2 separate regions of the Homo sapiens genome follow, and region 2 is linked to region 1. The links are contacts of gene promoters, found by promoter capture Hi-C in blood cells and fetal thymus (Javierre and others, 2016). All regions are on one chromosome and are shown on one strand. Each heading gives the region's core, a stretch centred on a gene start or on the middle of the fragment in contact. The rest is flanking DNA. Distances are from core to core; before and after follow the strand shown. Region 1 holds the start of DND1 (DND microRNA-mediated repression inhibitor 1). Region 2 overlaps APBB3 (amyloid beta precursor protein binding family B member 3).

Region 1 (5,006 bases), core at 1,074-3,573:
CTGCATGCCCATTCAGGGTGCCTGTGGAGAAAGAATGGAGTCACTGTTTAACCATGGTACCTGCCTCAGCCCCAGCAGACCACAGGAGGTTGGCCCCAGACTCACTGAGTGCCTGCAGCAGCCGTACAGACACAGCATCCTTGGCCACCTCATGCCCATCCCGGCCATCTAGGGTCAGCACAACCCAGATGAGGCCGCTGAAGGGCACCGGATGCCCAGGAATCACCACCTGGTACCAGAAGCGGTGCCAGCCAGCAGGTCCTATGCCCAAACACTTGGTGAGGAACACAGGGCTGCCCAGCTTCATTCGTTGGCACAGCAACTGCAGGGTAGCCCGAGCCCCTTGGAACCCTAACTTGTCCCTTGCCAAAGCCAACTGGCTGCCCTCTGGCTGTGGGGACCGCAAGAAGGGACCCACAAGCTGCTGGCGAAGTCGCTGCTTCAGGTCTGGCTTGAGCCACTCCACAGCCACCTGCTCTCCACAGAGGTGTGACTGCCCTGTAGGAAAAATGCAAAGACAAGGGCAGGTCTAAACCCTGGGCCCAAGCCTCCAGGTGGTGAGCCCTTTGGAGCTACACAGTCCTGTTATTTGTAGCCTTCCCATTTCCTGGTAGTGTGACCATGGGTAAGAAAAGACAATGAAGCCTTCAGCCTCCATTATTTGCAAAGGGAGTATAACACACTGCTACCTTACAAGTTTCCTTGGAGAAGTACTGGTTAATTGCAGGCTTTGTCTGCCTCATAACCATCATAATGGCTAATCTTTACTGGGAAAACTTGCTGTAAGTCAGTCAGTGTGCTAAGTACCGTACACCCATTATGTTACTTAATTCTCATAACAGTCTGAGGAAACAGATTCTATAGTAGTAAAAAGCTCAGTTGGATTCCCTTGAGCAAATCAATTTCTCTAACAGTTTCCTCATAGCTTGAGGGTCCTGTGCCTATTTTGCGGTGTGGGGGTGGGGGAAGGTTGAGAATTAAGTCAGGAGGTAATGCTCGGGAAGTGTCACAAATTTAGGTAAGCGGTGGTGGTAGCACCATTGGAAGTTTTAAAAATCTGAGATCAAATAGTAAAAGGTTGCAAATTCTGGCATGTTTGACTCTAAGATCTTGTAACTTTAACAGCTATGCTCAGTATAAAGTGCCGGGCAGAACGCGTTTGGCCCCAACCAGCACCCCCGCCCCAGCCTACCTTCCACCAGGGCCTTTTTGGCCATGGCAGCGGCCCGGTGCGAGCTGAATTTGAGCAGAGCGATCTGCCCGGGCGCCGGTCCGGGGCTGGGCAGCAGCCGCGCCTCCTGCAAGCCGGGACCCAGCGGCTGCAGCGCGAGCAGCAGCGCGCTGCGGGTCAGATTCGGCGGCAGGCCGTCAACGCTCAGCTCACACTTCTCGGTGCTGCGGCACACGAGCAGCGGGCAGGACGGCCGCAGCGGATGGTTGTGCAGCGTGGCGATGGCGGCCTGCGCGCCGCGCCTCGAGCTGTAGCGGGCATAGGCGAAGCCGCGGTTCAGGCCGCTGAAGGTCATCATCAGGCGGAACTCGTAGAGGCGGCCCACGCGCTGGAACAGCGGGATAAGCTGGTGCTCGTACACGTCCTGAGGCAGCCGCCCGATGAACACCTCTGACCCAGCTGGCGGCGGGCTGCCCACCCAGCCTGTGGGAAGAGGGTATGCAAGGCCACCGTCAGGCGACGCTTTCGAATTCTGAGCCCACGGACCCAGCGCGCGGGGGTGGGAGGCGATGTGAACAAAGGTCTGTGAAATGGGTTTACACCCGTACCCTGGGTGGTTGGCATAATTAGGTGACTGCGCTAACAAGGGGGCTGGCACAGAGTAGGTACACCTTGAGATTGGCCCCCTCCCTCGACGGGGCGGGTGGACGTGGAGCCACAGTTCCTCCTTTGCTGGGGGGTATAAATCCGGGTAGTTCGCAGTTTCTGACAGTGAAGGCTCGGAGCAGCCCCTCCCCCAAAGGGGGCTGGTGTAGCCGGACAGGCGGAGGGGCTGGGACTACCGTACCTGGGGGTGGCCCGCCATACTTCCTCTGCCCGTTCACCTGCACCAGGCGGATGCCTGTCTCCCTGACCCACGCCTCCAGCGCCGCCTTGTTCTCTGGATTCACCCTCTCACACCACAGCTGAGAGGGAAAGGAAGGTTGGAATGGCGGATCGCCAAGCGCGCCCCCACCTCTCCTGTGGTACTGGGGTCCCTAAAGCCGACCCCCGCTCCGGCGGGGCTCGCCGGCCCCCAAGTCGCCAGCCGCTTACCTCACAATCCCGCTTGGACTGCATGGCTCTCCAGCTGGCCCCCTCGTACCCTCTTTATAACTTCCTCCCCACCGGCCTCTGGAAGCTTCCCTACCCCTCCACCCCGCAAGCTCTCATTGGCTCTGAGCGCGACCCCGCCTCCCAGGGGGGTGGAGGTATCCACTGCACGTGCGCCGCCCGGGCTTCGCTCAGACCTTCAGGTGAAAGCTGCAAAGTCGCGGGTGCGTATGTACGGGGGCTGCCTCCCGAGGAGGAGCTCCCAAGCCGCAGGGTGGACGCTGGAGACAAGAACCTCAGGGTCACAAGTTTACTGTTTTTCTCCCTTTTCCATCCCTACATTGGTCTGCTGGGGAAGGCGGGGCTAGGCATCACTGACACACGCAGACTCCGTGGTTGAGGCATTTTATTGGACCTTTGGCAATTGGTGGTGGGGAGGCATCTGCTCCAACTGGTGCGGGGCCCTGCAGATGGGACCATCTCAGGCTGGGTCCTTGTAGCCCAGGAGCACAGACTGGACTAAGCCTCCTGGGCCTTGTATGAAAAAGGTGTTGTACCTGGCCGTTTTTGCCAGTAATAATCAATAAAATAACCATAATAAAAATCAAAGGCTCTGTTCTGACCACTCTTCAGGTCTTCCGCTGAAACGGAAAAGTGCAAAGCAATTGAAGTACATATGCAGTTTGTCTTAACCTCAAATAGTGCCAGTCCCACTTCCTTTCCTCTGATAGTTTGTTCAGTTCAGCAGATGCAGAGGGGCTGGCCTGTTCTCCTTTTGATTTCCTCCACAAGGTCTTCTCTTCGGACATCCACCTGGCCAGGATGGGAGAAGAAGGTGGTATAAGCATCTTCCATTCCACTGCTCCCCGAGTGCCTAGTTTCCTCTAGCCCTCTAGGCATCAGGCTTGTCTCAGCTGGGAGCAGGAACCTAATTAAACACCTCAGGCTAGAGTGTGCCTCTTGGGGGAGCCAACAAACCATAAGGTATATGCAGGGATGGAGATCTCACCCTACTAAGACCACAGTAACAGGTTAAGCCCTCAAGGCTTTTATGAGTTGTACTAATATCAATGCCAGGCTTTTTCTCAGGTCTTGAATGGGCATGGGCCTGCCAAAATGGCATACATTCTCTGTCCCTTAGCCTTCCTGCCCACCTCCCTCACCTCTTCCCTGCTCGTCACTGAACGGAGCTTGATGACCCCATCCTTGAGTTCCTGCTCGCCGATGATAGCCACCAGTGGGATGCCTGCCTCCTCACAGTACTGTAACTGGTTCAGTAGCTTTGGGTTCTTCTTGTACAGCAGCTCAGCCTGCAGGGGACAAGAGCAGAAGATGAAGGCTGGCTTCTGCTGTCCTCAGGGACAGAGGGTGTCCAAGCTGGCACCCTGTTCTTAGCTCTACTTTTGAGAAGTAATGGCAGGATCCATTATGGGTGAGCTTTTATTCAGTTTGTGTCCAGCACACCTAAGTTTGCTGCCACCCTGGGGCTTGCCTCCCATACCTTGATCCCAGCATCCCACAGTTCTGAGACAAGCTTTAGTCTTTCCTCTAGCAGCTTCTTCTGTGCAGATGCCACAAGCACCTGTGTCTCCGTGGTCCGTATCTTCTCCTCCAAAGCCTGGGGAAGGGGCAGATAAAAGAGAGCTGGGCTAACACCTTCAAGGAGCAAACAAAGCAGGCTCTAGTCGGGATTTTGAGACCAGGCCCAACTCAGCTCTACCAGGGCAGGGGCCCTGTCTTCTCATCTAGCACCTTGGGCATAAAGGTAGCTTTTAGTAGATATGAGGACTGAACTGACTGACTTGTACATAGGACGTATCAGAATAAATAACTTAGGGCAAGAGTAAAGGTAGCTTTTTTACAGTAACTTCAAGCTTATCTCCATGTAGTACCTTTTTTTTTTTTTTGAGACAGGGTCTCTGTCATCCAGGCTGAAGTGCCGTGGTGTGATCACTGCAGCTTCGACCTCCCAAGCTCAAGTGATCCTCCCACCTCAGCCTCCTGACTACAGGCACACACCACCATACTCAGCTAATTTAAAAAAAAAAAAAAATTTTTTTTTTTAATCTGTAGAGACAGGGTCTCATCATGTTGCCCAGGCTGGTCCATGTAGTACCTTAAGGGTCCACCAAAGCATTCACACAGAAGTACTACTATGAGCCCACCCCAATTAGATCACCCTTGACAGTTTTAGTCCCCACTTACTATCTACCCATTTATGACACTGTGCCTCTCACACTTCAGTTACAGGGCACAGGCGTGTATATGGGTGTGGGGAAAGGAGAATGCTGCTGCTGCTTCCCTTGTCTTTTTCAGGAAAACTATTTTCATAGTTCTTAGAATGTAAGATGCCTACTGGAAAAATGATCTCAACTGGGAAATGGGTGGTTTCCACCCTAGAGAAAAGGCATAGGACTGTGGGGAGGTTGCCAGAGCATTTCCCAGAAGATGAAATGCAACCAGCCACTTAAGACCAGCAGCAACAAAGGAGGGCTTGAGGCTACAAGAGGCTTCCTTGGTGTTACTCTAGGTGCTAGAGAGTCACGGTAGCCATCTGAGGGATCCCAGGGCCTCAGACACATGCTTCCCATTTAGAGACAGTATTGCAGTGTGGTTAGTGGCAAGACTTTGGAGTCAGACTGCCTGGATTCAAATTCTGACCCTACCACTTACAAGTTTCATGGCCTTAAGCAAATTATTTGATCTATAATGCTTCAGTGTTCTCATCTGGAAAATGCAATTA
Region 2 (5,006 bases), core at 1,748-4,247, 110 kb before region 1:
CAGCCCGTATGAGAACTGCGGCGGGTCGTTCCAGCCGCGTTCCTTGTTGCCTGCGGAGGCGAGGGATGTGTGAAGCGAGCCCGGAACTCCACTGTTAGCTTATACTGGGGCTGGGGGAGACAGAGGGTCCATACTAAGCGCCGCAACCGCCCCCAGCCTAGGCCGGGGCGACAACCTAGTGCCCTAGCCCGCCGGCTGCGCTCACCCGGCTTCACGTACAGCTCCGCCATCTCCACTTCCGCTTGGCCAGCGGGGCAGCGCGTCATTTCCGGGGCGGCCCCTCACGCGGGCCAGTTGAGACACGTCCAGGGCCAGGCGGGTTGCCGGAATCCGTGGAGGATGGATGCTGGTTCACAACCGTCGGGAGCCGCTGTGGGGACCCTGCGGCAACTCCCTAAGACTCGAAGGCTCCATCTAATGAACCATCAGGGCCCTGGTCACAAGGCACCAAAGGAGGTTGCTGTCCAGGAGCCAGTGCTCTAGGAGGCCTCATCCTCTCAGGAGCAAATTCAAACAAAGAAGCTCCTGCCCCACATACACCCCGCTGTGATCTAGCCAGGTTGACTTCTACAGCCTCCTCTTGCATTGCCCTGCACAATCTCCACATTCACGTCCGGTAGCCTCACTAGTACTCATCTTCCTTCAGTTCTCAGTTCAGATGTCAGTTCTTCAGGAGGCCTTCTGGAATGTCTCAGGCCAGGTTAAGTGTCTCACTTGAGCTCCCACGACCCTACAACCCTCTGAGATTTCGTAGGTGTATTACATCACATCTTCTGCCTTATTTGACTCTTGTTCGTTTCCCTGTCGGACAGTCTTAGAAGGTGGGACCTTGACTATTTTATTACATTCCCAGTGCCCAGCTTAGTGCCTGGCACAGGGAACTCCTTAGAAAATATGTTTGTTGAATGAAGTCAGATCTCCATCACACCCATGCTGTCATGTGACTACAGAGAGCCACCAACATCAAGCACAGACACAAAGACACTCATCTCACACAGGGTGTTAGCCCCCAGCCCTGTCCCAGGCCCAATATACTCACATCCAGTGAGGTCACTGAGGGATTTTTATTTGCACTGATTTTGCTATAAAGTGTTACTGAGGTAGAGCCAACTGTCCAGGGTTGGACAGGGGCAAGGAACACAAGGACCCAAGGAAAGGGGAGCCAGGGTCCTACGTTGTGGTGCAGTGCCTCCCAGTCATCCGTATAAACAATAAATTGGGCAATAAATAGACGGTGGACAAGGATCGGAGGGACAGGCAGAGAAGGCTTCAAGGAGTGACAGGCTATAGGCCTTGAGGAATAAAACGGTACAGAGTTAGGCATGGACCCAGAGCCTACTTCCCCAGCCTTCCCAGATAAGTTTAGGGCATATGGAGCAGAGAGGGTTTCAGCCGGAAGGCATCAAGAAAAGAGAAGACACCCCGCTTTCGAGGGGTTGCCCCTGCACCGCCAACCCCTCCTTTGAGCAGGGGGAGGGGCAGGGGACCTCCTGGGGAATCCATGGAGCTGGTCCGCTTGAGCCGCAGGCGGGCACGGGCCTGGGCACCCCAGGCCTTGCCTCGAGCTGCAGAGGCCACAAGACACTTCTGGTACTGAACCTAGGGAGAAGGGGAATGTGAGGATCCAGCTACTTTCTGCCTCTAGACTCCCTGAAAGCTTCTGCAGGACAGGGAACTGGCCAAAGCTTCTGTCTGATAACAAGGTTGGTAGTCAGCCACATGTGGAGTTTCTAGAGCATTCCCAGGTAGCTCAATAACAAAATCATAAAACATGTATCAGACACTTAAGGAGGGCAGGCTGGACACTGCTAAGTGCTTTGTATAATTCAGTTATTTATGAGGGGTTATTATCCCTGTTTTGCAAAAGAGGAAATTGAGATTCAGAGAGTATATGACTTGCCCAAGGTCACACAGCCAGAGAAAGGCAGAAATGGCATTCAAACCTAGTTCTCTCTGATTGCAGAGCCTAAACTCTTAATTACATGTACCACTATGTTGCCTCTTTTCCATCTCTCACTGGTGGGGACTAGTCCCTGGCAAAGCAGATTCCCTAGTCAAGGGTAAAGGTGTACAACTCAAACTCCAGCCCCAATGCAACTGCTCCCAGTCATCTCATCTGAACAGCTCAAAGGTGTCCTAATTGGCCTTCCTACCTCCTATTACGTCCTCCAAATCTTTTACCCATACTATAGCTTAAGTGGTCATCCTAATCCATAACCCTGACTTCACTCTCGGGCTCCAGTGCTTCCTAGTGCCTCCAGATAAACTCATCACCCTGACCTATGAGGTCCCCCAAACCTGGCTTCTGTCATTCTCTCTGATCTCACCTCTCACTACGTCCCCCTTGCATGCCAGATACACTAGATTCTTTCAGATACTCTCATCCACTAATATCTCTCACCTTCACAGCTAAGGTTCCCTGTGCTTGGTACACCTGCCCCACTCCCCTTCACCTGGCTAACTTCCCTCTTGGACTGTCGGATTTCTATCACCTCTTACAGGTAGCCTTCCTGACCCCTAAAGGGGCCACCTCTTCCATCAACCAGTGGTGTACAACTTATTTCTGGTCTATCTTGGCTCTATCCTAAGTGTTTTGTGAAGGCAAGGGCTGTGCCCTCTACAGCACTAAATTCTCAGGGTCAGCTATGGTGTCTGGGACCCTGTAGGCACCCATATTTGTTGAATGAATGGGCAAACTGAACTAACGAAGTATAAGCAACCCACACTCAAATGCCCACAGATGCCAGGAAATAAACCTAAATGAGACAAACAGGAACAATGCCAACTCTTTAGGGCACAGCTTCTGCACAACTCTGGCTGCATGCTGACACTTACACGTGTGAACTGAGTGCCAGAGCTCTTGATATTTTAAGAAAAACAAGAATAGCGATTATTATGTGAAATGTCCTGGCCTTTAAATATTGGCAACTAATTAAAACTTACTAAAAACAACATGAGGGCCAAAACATTAATGAACCAGAATCAGCCCAGGTTTGTGATCTCTGAAGAGGCTGCCGACCCGGAGCCCAAGTAAACAGTGGAGAGCAGCTGCAGGGCAATCCCACCAACCCATTCCCACCCATGACTCACCATACAGGCAGCCTGCACAGCTTCAGAGAGTCCCCCTGCATGGGGCTGGCACCAGAAGGCTGCGCACTGGAAGCTCTGACGGCCCAGGTCAGCGATGAGGCCAAAGGTGTGTGGGTCGCGGCCAACACCAATAAATGTCACAAGGCGCACAGGGCACTGCCACAATGGCTCCTCCTCTGTACTGGCCTCTGCCTGCCCACACCAGGCCTAGTCACTAGAGGGCCAAGCACGGGCCAGACCCACTTAACTTTTCCGACAGCAAGCAGTGACCCCTCAGCATCCCTGCTCACCCCTCCAAAGCCCCCAACTTCACCCTCTTCTGGTACCTGAATGGGGTGTGCAGTCATGAGAGAGTCAGACACACTGAGCATGGTGGGGACCCAGGCATTCCGGTCCCCCCTGGCGGTGAGGGTACCAATGGCCTCGTTCAGCACATCCATGCCTGGGGGAACATACCCAGCGTGTCTCCCAGTGTAAAAGAAAGAGTCTGCAGGGAGTGTCTAGCCCCCTCTCACTGATTTGGGATTCAGAGATAGGGAATAGGATAGCTGGGGCAAGCCTTAGAATTCTGATTTGGGAAGGCTGGTAGACCCCAGGCCATAACAAGGCCACGGGAGGACTCTTGAGAAATGATAACAGGCCTCACCTCACTCACCTTCCCCTTGCCTCACACAGCCCACCACATGCAGCCCCCTCAGTCCTCACCCATGGCCTTGGTGACTGGCAGTGTCCCCATATACAGTGCCTCGTACTTCTGAGCAGCTTGGCTTACCGCATCCAGCAGCTCCACTGAAATATACACACCAAGTTGGCCTGGAAGCTCTTTCAATTACCCTTTTCCCCACCCTTCTCAATGGGCCAGGACTCAGGTCAGAGCTGGTGCTGGTAGAAGAAATGGCTCATAGATGCTCCTCCAACTAGTGGCTTGGGATCCCTGAGACCAGACATCTCAGAAATTTATCCACAGAAGTATTAAATAACCAGAAATCGCCCCCCCACAAAGCAGCACCAAAGCACCCCAATGCAGCAATGCAGGTCTCCCCTCCCCATACCTTGCCGTGGCAGGTCTTCAGGAGAGATGGGGTCTGGGGAGCAGCAAGAGGCATCACCACTGACCTCTACTCGCTCTGACAAGATCTAAAACACAATGAAGCCAGCATGACCCACAGGGAGAGAGGGGAATTAGGGTAAAAGGGCCAATACCACCCCAACTACCTTGGAAGCTTCAGACCCAACCCCTTACCCACATTCCCTGCCCCACCCCTGACACTTACCTGGGCACAAAGCCCATGTAGGGCACTGGCAATGGCCTTGGCAGGGACATCACAGCAAAACACATGGCACTTGAGCATACAGCTATCTTTGTCACTTGCCACAAAAGCGAAGTCCCTAGCAGGGGCAGAGATGGGGCTGGGGTAGAAGCTGGTTAGAGGCAGGAGCCTGCAGGAGGCTGGAAAGTCAGGCTAGGGATATAGCAGGGATGGAGTAGGGACATCAGGGATGGGGCTCAGGATACCTGGTTTTCACTCACCTGTCACTGTTCCGGAAGCATGTGGGAGCACAGAAGGGAATCAGCCCAGCCTCTCGGACTCTCCCCAAACTGTCCCTGCTGAGCTGGGCCCACCCTCCCCAACCAGGGCTGGACCAGGCAGGGGAAGCAGTCCTGGGTCCACATCAGAGGATCTGTGTCCAGGGGTTCAAGTACTGGGGATCAGCATCAGTGGGGATCACAGCCTGCAGCCGGGAGGGAGAAGTAGCTCTTGCTTGGGGGATGTAGGCATCCTCACCGGCCCTTGGAGCTCCCCACGCCCCACACACGGATGTGCACCAGAGGCTGGCAGTGGATCAGACTGTGGTCCAGGGGATTCACTAGGCTCATGGCATCCTTCTTCAGGATCATCAGCATGTTCTGGCCC

What was found. The method cuts DNA at HindIII sites, captures the fragments that hold promoters and counts their contacts. A CHiCAGO score of 5 or more calls a contact.
Region 2: a contact is called between a fragment that was not itself captured here and the fragment with the promoter of DND1 in region 1, in 12 of 17 cell types (monocytes, total CD8 T cells, non-activated CD4 T cells and 9 more). The highest score is 8.0, in monocytes.

The regions. Positions count from the first base shown.
Region 1 is chr5:140,671,253-140,676,258 of GRCh38, forward strand. DND1 (DND microRNA-mediated repression inhibitor 1) reads right to left here and starts at 2,324. Exons shown (of 4, transcript NM_194249.3): 1 at 2,267-2,324; 2 at 2,019-2,136; 3 at 1,193-1,654; 4 at 1-498. The coding sequence starts at 2,290. The coding sequence ends at 41. WDR55 (WD repeat domain 55) reads left to right here. Exons shown (of 7, transcript NM_017706.5): 7 at 1-1,093. HARS1 (histidyl-tRNA synthetase 1) reads right to left here. Exons shown (of 13, transcript NM_002109.6): 11 at 3,765-3,881; 12 at 3,427-3,573; 13 at 2,653-3,076. The coding sequence ends at 3,005. RefSeq lists enhancers at 1,198-1,993, 1,994-2,789. The HindIII fragment of the contact is 8,462 bases long and covers 1-2,349 here.
Region 2 is chr5:140,557,223-140,562,228 of GRCh38, forward strand. APBB3 (amyloid beta precursor protein binding family B member 3) reads right to left here. Exons shown (of 13, transcript NM_133173.3): 6 at 4,878-5,005; 7 at 4,622-4,627; 8 at 4,365-4,479; 9 at 4,143-4,227; 10 at 3,796-3,879; 11 at 3,417-3,532; 12 at 3,091-3,282; 13 at 1,046-1,599. The coding sequence ends at 1,363. It overlaps SRA1 (steroid receptor RNA activator 1), which reads right to left and starts at 251. Exons shown (of 5, transcript NM_001035235.4): 1 at 206-251; 2 at 1-50. The coding sequence starts at 230. RefSeq lists enhancers at 1-305, 171-530, 621-680. The HindIII fragment of the contact is 2,628 bases long and covers 1,684-4,311 here.